2 separate regions of the Homo sapiens genome follow, and region 1 is linked to region 2. Evidence: promoter capture Hi-C in 16 types of primary human blood cells and fetal thymus (Javierre and others, 2016). All regions are on one chromosome and are shown on one strand. The core of a region is centred on a gene start or on the middle of the fragment in contact, and the rest is flanking DNA. Distances in the headings are between cores, read along the strand shown.

Region 1 (5,883 bases), core at 406-2,905, 270 kb before region 2:
AGCTCACAAGTTTGACACCATCCTTGGCAACAGGTGAAACCCTGCCTCTACAAAAAATACAAAATTAGCCAGGCATGGTGGTGCGCACCTGTAGTCTCAGGTACTCAGGAGACTGAGGTGAGAGGATCACTTAAGCCCAGGAGGCAGAGGTTACAGTGAGCTGAGATAATACCACTGTACTCCAGCCTGGGCAACAGAGCCAGACCTTGTCACAAAAAAAATAAATAAATAAAAGAAAAAAATTACAGGGAAGATTTCTTTTTTATTAAAACCTTTATGTGAAGTAAAACATACTTATTGCAGAGAAGTGCATAAAACATAAATGTACAAGTTAATGCATTACTATGAAGCCAACTCCTTTGTAACCTCAACTAGGTCAAGAAATAGATATTGTCAGGTGCCAAAAGCCTCATCCTTTTCCTCACCTTCAAAGGCACCACCACCCTGATTTCTATGGGTATGTGGATTAGTTTTGCCTGCTTTGGAGTGTTATATAAATGGAATTATACATTAATTTTTAAAATTTATTTTTAATTTTTATTGCCTTAATTAATTTTTAAACATTTTATTATTATTTTTTAGAGACAGGGTCTCACTCTGTTGTCCAGGCTGGAGTGCAGCGGCACGATCATAACTCGCTGCAGTCTCAAATTCCTGGACTCAAGTGATCCTACTGCCTCAGCCTCCCAAGTACCTAGGACTACAGGTGCCAGCCATACACCTGGCTACTCCCTATTATTTTTTATTTTACTTTTATTTATTTACTTATTTTGAGACAGAGTTTTGATCTTGTTGCCCAGGCTGGAGTGCAATGGCGTGATCTTGGCTCACCGCAACCTCCGCCTCCCAGGTTCAAGTGATCTTTCCGCCTCAGCTTCCTAAGTAGCTGGGATTACAGGTCTGTGCCAACACGCCCAGCTAATTTTGTATTTTTAGTAGAGACGGGGTTTCTCCATGTTGGTCAGGCTGGTCTCGAACTCCTGACCTCAGATGATCTGCCTGCCTTGGCCTCCCAAAGTATTGGGATTACAGGCATGAGCCACCGCGCCCGGCCTATTTTATTTATTTATTATTTATTTATATTACTTTTTGAGACAGTGTTTCACTCAGTCACCCAGGCTGGAGTGCAGTGGTATGATCATGGCTCACTGCAGCCTCAACCTCTCAGGCTCAAGTGATCCTCCCATCTCAGCCTCCTGAGTAACTGGGACCACAGGTGTGTGCCCAGCTGATTTTTTGAACTTTTTTAGAGACAGGGTTTCCCTATGTGGCCCAGGCTGGTCTCAAACTCCTAGACTCAAGTAATCCTCCTGCCTTGGGTTCCCAAGATGCTGGGATTACAGGTGTTAGCCCCTACACCTAACCCTATATTATTTTTTATAAGCTTTATTCTTTTGCTTTTCGTATTGAAGACTATAGCCCACCTGGAATTTATCTGTTGATGGTGTGAGGTAAGGGTCAGGTTTCATTTTTTTCCCCATAGGAGCACACTCAGTTGATTTACTGAAAAGTTTACTCTTTCCCTGTGTGTGTGCTTTTTTGTTTTTTGTTTTTTGTTTGTTTGTTTGTTTTAAGACAGGCTCTTGCTTTGTAACCCAGGCTGGAGTACAGTGGTGTGATCTTGGCTCACTGCAACCTCCACCTCTCGGGTTCAAGCGATTCTCCTGCCTCAGCCACCTGAGTAGCTGGGATTATAGGCGTGCACCACCACACCTAGCTAATTTTTGTAATTTTAGTAGAGACAGGGTTTTACCATGTTGTCCAGGCTGTCTCAAACTCCTGACTTCAGGTGATCCACCCGCTTCGGCTCCCAAAGTGCTGGGATTACAGGTGTAAGCCACCGCACCTGGCCTTCTGTAGTGTTCTTTGCAAATATTTTGTTACATTCATTCCTGTGTAATCGATTTATCATTTGATGCTATTCAAGAAGCTTATTTAAAGCCCAGGTTCTTGGCCAGGTGCGGTGGCTGACACCTGTAATCCAGCACTTTGGGAGGCTGAGGTGTGTGGATCACCTGAGGTCAGGAGTTCGAGACCAGCCCAGCCAACATGGTGAAACCCCGTCTCTACTAAAAGTACAAAAATTAACCGGGCATGGTGCTGCGTGCCTGTAATCCCAGCTACCTGGGGGGCTGAGGCAAGAGAATCACTGGAACCCAGGAGGCTGAGGCTGCAGTGAGCCGAGATTGAACCACCGCACTTCAGCTTGGGCGACAGAGCAAGACTCCATCTAAAAATAATAATAATAATAATAATAATAATAATAAAACCAAGGTTCTGACTGGGCATGGTGGCTCATGCCTGTAATCCCAGCACTTTGGGAGGCTGAGGCAGGCAGATCACCTAAGGCCAGGAGTTCAAGACCAGCCTGGCCAACATGGTAAAACCTCATCTCTACAAAAATACAAAAATTAGCCAGGCATGGTGGCAGGTGCCTGTAATCCCAGCTACAAGGAAGGCTGAGGCAGGAGAATCACTTGAACCTGGGAGGTGGAGGTTGCAGTGAGTTGAGATCACGCCACTGCACTCCAGCCTGAGCGACAGAGCAAGACTCTGTTTCAAAATACATAAATAAATAAAATAAAGCCCAGGTTCTCTGGCTCAACATTTGGAGAGTCTAAGTGAGTAGTTCTGGAGTGAGCCCAGATGGGAATTTTGAAAAAGCTCCTGGTGGTTCTGATGTGCAGATCCCATCCTGTCTTGCTGCACTCATTATCTCTTTTCAATCCCCTTCAGTCCCCCTCCCTCCCAGCTGGCCCACGCCCATAAGCCTGTGAACATGCTTAGTCTCCGTGTCTTAGAATAAACCTCCCCAAACCCCTCCAGGTCCTGGCATCGCCTTTTTCTCCCATTAATAGCCATACTTTTAAGGGTTGACCACACCTGTGCTTTCATATTTTTATACTCCTTATAAAACCATGCAGCCCTTCACACAGTTTAAAATTGACATCTAATTCAAACCATCCTTACCCACACCTACTCCCCCCTCTGGTCTACCAGGCAGTCTCTCTTCTTCTACCAGCTTATACCCCTCCAGCCTCTGCAAAACAGTTGTGTGTGTGTGTGCGTGTGTGTGTGTCTTTTGTTTTGTTTTTAGAGATAAGGTTTTGTTCTGTCGCCCAGGCTGGAGGACAGAGGTGTGATCATAGCTCGTTGCAGCCTCAATCCCCTGGGATCAAGCGATCCTCCTACCTCAGCCTCTCGAGTAGCTGGGAATACAGGTGTATGCCACCATGCCTGGATAATTTTTAATTTTTTAATTTTAGATTTTTTTGTAGAGAAGGGGTCTAGCTATGTTGCCCAGGCTGGCCTCAAACTCCTGGCCTCAAGCAATCCTCCCACCTCCACCTTCCAAAGTGCTAGGATTATAGGCGTGAGCCACCATTCCTGGCCTGAATGATCTATTTCCATCCCTGGATTATTTCTCTTTTTCTTATTGGTGTGTAGGAGCTCTTTGTAATAATATAGATATTAACTTATCTGTCACATGGATTTCAAATGTCTTCCCATTTTATTATTCCCTTTGACTTTGATGAAGGTATCTTTTGCTATATACAGTTTTAAATGTTTATGTAATTTTATATGTGTATCTCTTCTCCTATAGCTCTGGTTTTCTGGTCTTAGTTTGAAATATTTTATATACTCTGGCCGGGCACAGTGGCTCACCCCTGTAATCCCAGCACTTTGAAAGGCTGAGGTGGGTGGATCACCTCAGGTCAGGAGTTTGAGACCAGCCTGACCAACATGGCGAAACCCTGTCTCTACTAAAAATACAGAAATTAGCTGGGCATGGTGGTGGGCGCCTGTAATCCCAGCTACTCGGGAGCCTGAGACAGGTGGATCGCTTGAACCCGGGAGGCGGAGGTTGCAGTAAGCTGAGATGTGCCATTGCACTCCAGCCTGGGCAACAGAGAGAGGCTCTATCTCAAAAAATTATATATATTTTATATACTCTGAATATTGTTTACATTTATATGTTTAAAGCATTTGAAATTTATTTTCACGATTTTGGTGAGAAGTAGGGATTCCACCTCATTTTCCTCCTAGTGGGACAGCAAGTTGGGTCAACATCACTTATTAAAGAAAGTATCGGGCTGAGTGTGATGGCCCACCCCTGTAGTCCCAGCACTTTGGGATGCTGAGGTGGACAAACTGCTTGAGCCCAGGAGTTTGAGACCAGCCTGGCGATATAGTGAGACCTCGTTTCTACAAACAATATAAGCATTAGCAGGGTGTAGTGGCACACACCTGTAGTCCCAGCTACTTGGAAGCTGACGATCGCTTGAGCTGAGAAGGCCAAGGGTAGAGTGAGCCATGATTGTGCCACTGCACTCCAGCCTTGGCAACAGAGGATGATGCCCTGTCTGAAAGAAAAGAAAATCGCAAATAAATAAAGTATCATCCTTCCTCACAGAATTAAAATTCAACCATTGTTTTTTGTTGTTATTTAGACACACGGTCTCGCTCTGCCACTCAGGCTGCTGGAGTACAGTGGCCTGACCATAGCTCACTGCAAACTTGAACTTCTGCCTCAAGCGATCCACCCGCCTCAACCTCCCAAAGCACTGGGATTACAGGCGTGAGCCACTGTGCCTGGCTTCCACCATTGTTATATATTACATCAACTGTCTGTTGGGATCTGTTCCTCTTCTGTTTCACTGACATTTTCATCATTTTCTTGACCATTCTTAGAAAGGTGTTGGCAGGGATCAGAGTCTGAAAACTTTGTCTCTCCTCGTACCCTTGGCCAGACAGGAATCTGTGCTGAAGGTGGTAGCCAAGATTAGAGTGTGCTCCTGGCAAGACCCCCTCCTCCTGCCTGTATGGGGTTGTTTTTGCATTGCATGATCACATGCACGCCTCTGCACTCTGCTTTTCTCCCTCACAACCTTGGCAGCCCCTCAGCCCCACCACCACTCTGCTGCAGACACGGGACTAATCTCATTACTGTCTTTATCCCTGTTCACATCGCCCATCACAAGAAGCCCAGATCCCTGCTCAGCCCTCCTCCCTGCATCTAATCCCCATCTGGCTCTGCTTCCCTTCTCCCCACCCCCAGCTACTGAAACTCTCTGCCAAGTCCCCGGAACTCAGGCACGGGAGGTCTTCTTTGAACTCTTCCTTCGCCTTCTGGCTCTTCTGACACTGCTTCCCCTACTGTGAGCCCAGGTGGTGACTGTTTTCCCTCCCTCCCTCCCTCCCCTGCCACTGGGCCGGCAGATGGGGGCCCTCCTTGCTCCACTTGCAGAACATGAGCTTCCCCCTCTTCCCCCAAACCCCCAGCTTTCAATCTCATGTTATTTGACAGTACCATTGCTGCAGACATTCCACGACTAAATTCTTCAAGGAATGAGATGACTCCTCATTCCTTGAAGAGTTTAGGCCAAGGGAGGTGGCACACGCCTGTAATCCCAGCACTTTGGGAGGCTGACCCCAGGAGGTCATGACCCGCCTGGGGAAAATAGTGAGATTCCATTCTACAGAAAACAATAAAAATGAAAAAAATAACCAGGCATGGTGGCATGTGCCTGTGGTCTCAGCTACTCAGGAGGCTAAGGTGGGAGGATCGCTTGAGCCCAGGAGGTCAAGGTTGCAGTAAGCCATGATTGCACCACTGCACTCCAGCCTGGGAGACAGAGTGGATCCCATCTCAAGAAAAAGAAAAGAAAAAGAGTTTAGCAGCAAATTCACTGTCCTCTCTAACACTGCTCTTGAGGTTCAGTTCATTCGGTGTCCATGCAGGTGAGCCTTCCTACCCCAGCCTCTCAGTCCCTCCACGCATGGCCTCACCTTGCCCTGACCTCAGCACTGTCCCTCAGGATCAGACCTGGACAGGCCTCTCACCCTTGGGACTGCTAGGTGCTGCTTCCACCTGCGATCCAA
Region 2 (5,586 bases), core at 1,509-4,008:
TTGAGAATTGTGTCCAGAAAAGAGGTGAGAGCCCAGGATTCTGATGCCTCTGATGCAGGGTGACGAACATGGGCCATTAAAACTCCTTACCCACAAGTGTGTGTGTGTGTGTGTGTGTGTGTGTGTGTGTATGTGCGCGCGCATGCACATGTGCCCGCTTGTCTCTTTGAGAACCGGAGGGACAAGGAGGGCATCCCAGGTAGGTGTGACTTCTCCCCAGAAATGGAGGGTTTCCTAGGCTGGCTGGGTCTCCTTCACAGCTTTGTCTTCAGTCTCCAATCTGTTTGGCCACAACTTCTTCAGCCCCAGACCCATCCCTTGTTCTTCTGACCTGCCTGAAGCCTGCCCTGGTGGACCAAAGGCCTGATGCAACTTCAGAGAAGATGCTGAGTCAGAAAGAATATGCAGGAGACTGGGAAAGGTTTGCAGGAGGCCTTTAATTGTGAAGAGCGCAATCAGAAAACAGATATGCTGGTCAAGGAGGTGGCCAGCCCGGGAGATGCGCTGGAGCAGGGGAGAGATGCCCCTGCGCCTAGTGGCCTACAGCATTCTGGGCTAGGTGTGGGAGTGGGTGGGCAGTCTCACTGCTTGGAGCGTCCAGCGTCATGGCAGATGCCAAAGTTGGTGTTGGTGATGGAGCCCACGATGGTCTTGTCTCCCTCACAGGTCAGGCCACGCTCACAGGGACACTTGTAGTAAATCCCATAGAGCGTCTGCAGAGACACAGCCAATGGAGTCAAGGCTATGGGGAGATACTTTGGACATCACTTGTCCCCTGCCTGACCTAGAGAACCAGTAGGCCAGCCTGTGTTTTCGGGGAGTGCCTCTCCCACCTGCCTCCCCAGGGGTGCCGTGGGCCCTGGAGACCCCAGCTCTGACCTCTGCTCTGGCTCATTTGCTCTTACTAGCTTGATCTCTCTGGGGAGCCTCTATTTACCCAGCCATGAAATGGGGATAACAAATCCCCACCCCCACCCATCTCACTGGTCACTCGGGAGGGTCAAGAGAGATGATGGGATGGGAAAGTGCTTTGACACCTGTCGACCTCCCTCTCGTCTCCTCAACATTCAGTGTCCAGGCTGACCCCCCTCCCTGATCCCACTCACAAGTGTTCAGGGCCCTACTCCCCATTCTCCCCCACCCACGCCAAGTCCTCAGGCACCCACCTTGACAGAGCACTCGCTGTTCTCGCTGGCCATGGATGTGCAGCGGGCCAGGCCCAGCGCACTTGAATGCTGGCAGCAATTGCTCTTACACTGGGCACTATTCATGCAGAGCTCACCGTTCTCCTGCCAGGAGCAGCCAGTCAGCCCAGGCCCCACTCCCTCAGGTCCCTTCTCCATTCAGACCTGTACCCACCACACACTACCACTAACAGTGTCTCCCCTGGTAGGGATGTGTGTGAAGGAGTCCATCCCCTGGGTCTGGTGGCCTCTGTGCCCCCCACCCACGTGAGAAGTGGGCATGCGGTGACAGAGAAGCAGACTTGCACAGAGGGTCAGGACCCCTGGGTTCTAGTACCGGCTGTGCTACCAACCTCCTGTGTGACTCTGGGCAAGTCACTGCCTCCCAAGCCTCAGTGTTCCCATTTGGAATGTGCACACAAGGCCCCTAGACAAGTTCTCCAAACCACTCTGGGTCCCACACCTCTTTAAGGAGGCGGTGAAGATTGCATCTCCCTGCAAGACTCCTTCCTCCCCCAACAGATCTGATCTATAATCTCCAAGGGTCCTGGACCTCCAAGTCCAGCCATGGCCCCAAGTTAAGAGAGTTCAGAACCTTTCAACCGCATGGACGTTCTGGAAGGGCTTTCCCAGCCAAGACCCATGGTGGAGAGGTGGTGTGGGGCAGTGGTGGGGCCCCAGCTGAACCACTTTCCAGCTATGTGACCTCAGGCAGGTTGCTCACCCTCTCTCTGTCTGAAGACAGGGCTGACTCTGAAAACACCTCCCTCAGTGGTTATTATGAGAACAGAATGAGTAAACATCTCCGAGGCATCTCCATAAGTCAGAAGCTGGAATGATTGGCGCAAAGCATTTTCTCAGGATGGAAGCCCAGGGCTCTGGATTTTTACAAAGCTCCCTCGTAGGGCCAGGTGAGGTGGCTCATGCCTGTAATCCCAGCACTTTGGGAGGCCGAGGTGGGCGGATCACGAGGTCAGGAGTTTGAGACTAGCCTGGGCAACATGGTGAAACCCTATTTCTACTAAAAATACAAAAAATAGCTGAGCGTTATGGCAGGCACCTGTAATCCCAGCTTCTTGGGAGGCTGAGGCAGGAGAATCATTTGAACCCGGGAAGCAGAGATTGCAGTGAGCCGAGATTGTGCCACTACACTCCAGCCTGGTGACAGAGCAAGACTCCGTTTCAAAAAGAAAAAAAAGAAAAAAAAGGTCCCTCATAGCCAGGTTGAGCTGCTGCTCTGAGCATGCTCCAGTTGGAGCTGGAGAGGGGCTGATCAGCCTTTCCTGTGGCCTCTGGGAAGAGGCATAGGACAGGACATGGAAGTAAACAGAGGGATGCAAGATGCCACTCCTCCCAGCCCCTGCCAGTCCAGGTGGAGACATCAGAGGTCAAGGTCCAAGCTTAGGAAGTCTTCATCTGGGGACTCAGGAGGCGCCTCCCCTGAAGACCCTCTTACCAGGTTGATAATGATCCCCCGGGGGCCAGGAGCTGCATAGGCCACAGAGAGGGCGACAAGCAGGAGGATCAGGATCTTCTCCATGGTGAGTGGGACAGCTGGTGTGGGTGGCGGGAGACAGAGCCAGCTGTGGTGATGGGGCTATAAAAGGGGCCCTGACCTCACGAGATCCACCTGCATCCCACAGGGCTGGCCGTGGGCAGAGGCACAGCTGTGGCCAATCTGCTGTGGGGCGGTTCCTGATAAGGAAACTGGGTGAGTACCTGGTGGCCTTTTTCGTGTGTGTGTGTGTGTGTGTGTGTGTGTGTGTGTGTGTGTTGGTGATAATTGTGTTGCATCGTGGTTAAGAGTATGGACTGTGTACAAGTTATTAGTGAGGCAAACTTACTATCTGTTCCAACTATTCTGCCTTTCATCTTATCTGTCAACTAAGGATAATTTAAAGAGTTGTGAGGGTTGAATTAATACACATTTATGTGTTACATATATATAAACATTATTATATACAATTATAAGAATATATTTATATTGTATATTCCCATATGCCACATAAGCAGTGGGTAAGGGTGGCTGCCCTTGTGTCTTGAGCTCCTGGGCAGTGCCTGGACGAATCCAAGGCAAGAGAGGCACCTATGGTGTGAGTGCCTGCTTACATTCTGTGTACTTGGGGCCTCTCTGCCTCACTATAGTCAGGCCTTGCCTTTGGCCCACCCAAGCCCAGGTGTCTAGCAGTGTCAGACTCCAGGGACGAGGATCCTAGCCTCCCACCCCTCAACCTTCCTTCAGTCTCCTCGGGGGATTCCAGGCCATGCCCAGATCCCTGGGGCTGACAGTTCTGCAACCCCCAGCAGGCCAGGGTGTGTGTGCTTTCACTTTGGCACCCTCCCCCTGCCCTCACACCAGGGGCTGCCTGCAGGCCTGACTCAAGGGCCCTTAGGAGGCCCTTCCTAAATGCCTCTCTCCCCTTTCCTTTCTACCTCACTTACTATCTGCAATTCCAGCATCAGATACTCACCCCTTTAGTTAAGGTTTCCACTCACGCTGCCCCCTACCCAAGGCCACGTGCGCGCGTGAGCAGTCGCTAGTCCTGGCTGAGAATGAAGAGGTCTCATGAGCCTCAGATGGAGCAGGGGCCTCAGGAAGCTGGGAAGGGCACAGCTGCCTGAGTTTGCTCAGGCATGGGAACAGAGCAGCTTTTCCTGAAGGACTAGTCATGGCAGCCAGAGGCCCCTGCCCTTCCCCTCTCCATCCCAGGAGGTAGAAGACAGCTCCACTGAGAGGCCCAGGCCTCAAGCACAGCTTTTAATTTAATTTAATTTAATTTTTTGAGACAAGGTCTCACTCTGTCACCTAGGCCGAAGTGCAGTTGTGCCATCTTGGCTCACTGCAGCCTCCACCTCCTGAGATCAAGCAATCTTCCCCCTAAGCCTCCCAGGTCTAAAACTCGTGGGCTCAAGCAATCTTCCCACCTCGGCCTCCTAAAGTGTTGGGATTACAGGTGTGAGCCACTGTGCCCAGCCTCAAGCACAGCTTTGATCCAGACCAAGCTGGCTTCAAAATTCAGCATTTACTGGAGCTACGTGGCCTCAGACACATTATTGAAAGTGAAGCTCCCTGAACCTCACTTTCCTTATTTATCTTAGGGGGATAACGCCTCCTACTTCCTGAGGTCATGATTAAGACAATGCACGTGGAACACCTTCGGAAGTGCCTGGCACATGGTGGGTGCCCAGCCATGTAATATGACCCCCTTCCTCTCACCTTTACATCCCTGGGGTGTGGAATGTAGAGAAATAGCTGGAGGAACAACCAGGAGACTCTCAAAATGAGAAAAACCAATTTGGTTCCAGCGATGCAGAAATACCATTGATGAAAGAACACTATCCCCCCTCTCTTTTATAGAACTCAATGTTTGAAAGCACTTTTTCCTATGAGTTCACTCTGATCCTTCCTTCTCTTTTCTCTACCTGCTCCCCACCCCCAGGACCTCTGTGAGGTGAGCCACAGAGAAGGGAATCACTATTCCCTTCTCACAAGTCAAGATGGAGACTGGCAAAGGAATCAGAGGAGTGATTTCTCTCCATGAAGGGAGCTGTGAAAACCATCAGCCCTGTCCCTAGTTGGTCTCAGCCAAGCTTGCAAAGAAAAAAGGCTGGAGTTTTTTCCATTACAAATGAAGTGTAGCAAAGAGAACTTTGACACTGTATGTGCTTCTAAAAGGAAAGCAAAAATTAAGTACCTGTCAATGAAAAGAGTCAAACTCTGTACAATATTTGAATAGATTTATTCTGAGCCAAATATGAGCAACCATGGCCTGTGACACAGCCCTCAGGATGTAACCACTGAAGGGGTTCACCTTGCCCACTACCTAGATAGAGCCGATTCATCAAGACAGGGGAATTGCAGTGGAGAAAGAGTATTTCATGCAGAGCCGGCTGTGCAGGTGCAGGAGACTAGAGTTTTAGAGTTGTTGTTGCTGTTGAGACAGAGTTTCGCTCTTGTTGCCCAGGTTGGAGTGCAATGGCATGATCTTGGCTCACTGCAACCTCCGCCTCCTGGGTTCAAGTGATTCTCCTGCCTCGGCCTCTCGAGTAGCTGGGATTACAGGCATGTGCCACCATGCTCGGCTAATTTTGTATTTTTAGTAGATATGGGGTTTCACCATGTTGGTCAGGCTGGTCTTGAACTCCTGACCTCAAGTGATCCACCTGCCTCAGTCTCCCAAAGTGCTGGGATTACAGGCATGAGCTACCATGCCCAGCAGGGAGCAGAGTTTTTGAAGATAACTTGGTGGGTGGGGGGAAGCCAGTGAGCCAGGGGTGATGATTGGTCAGAGATGAAATCATAGGGACTCAGAGCTGTCTTCGTGCACCCAGTCAATTACTGGGTGAGGGCCACAAGATCAGATGAGCCAGTTTATTGATCTGGGTGGGGCCAGCTGATCCA

What was found. Contacts are between HindIII fragments. The CHiCAGO score rates a contact against its expected background, and 5 or more counts as called.
Region 1: a fragment that was not itself captured here is called in contact with the fragment with the promoter of CLPS in region 2 in 1 of 17 cell types (M1 macrophages); the score reaches 5.3 in M1 macrophages.

Annotation. Positions count from the first base shown.
Region 1 is chr6:35,529,590-35,535,472 of GRCh38, forward strand. No RefSeq gene overlaps it. Among named protein-coding and RNA genes, the nearest start is that of LINC03135, 11 kb to the right of the region's middle. The HindIII fragment of the contact is 546 bases long and covers 1,383-1,928 here.
Region 2 is chr6:35,794,565-35,800,150 of GRCh38, forward strand. It overlaps CLPS (colipase), which reads right to left and starts at 2,759. Exons shown (of 3, transcript NM_001832.4): 1 at 2,641-2,759; 2 at 1,167-1,289; 3 at 418-713. The coding sequence starts at 2,724. The coding sequence ends at 582. The HindIII fragment of the contact is 2,191 bases long and covers 2,583-4,773 here.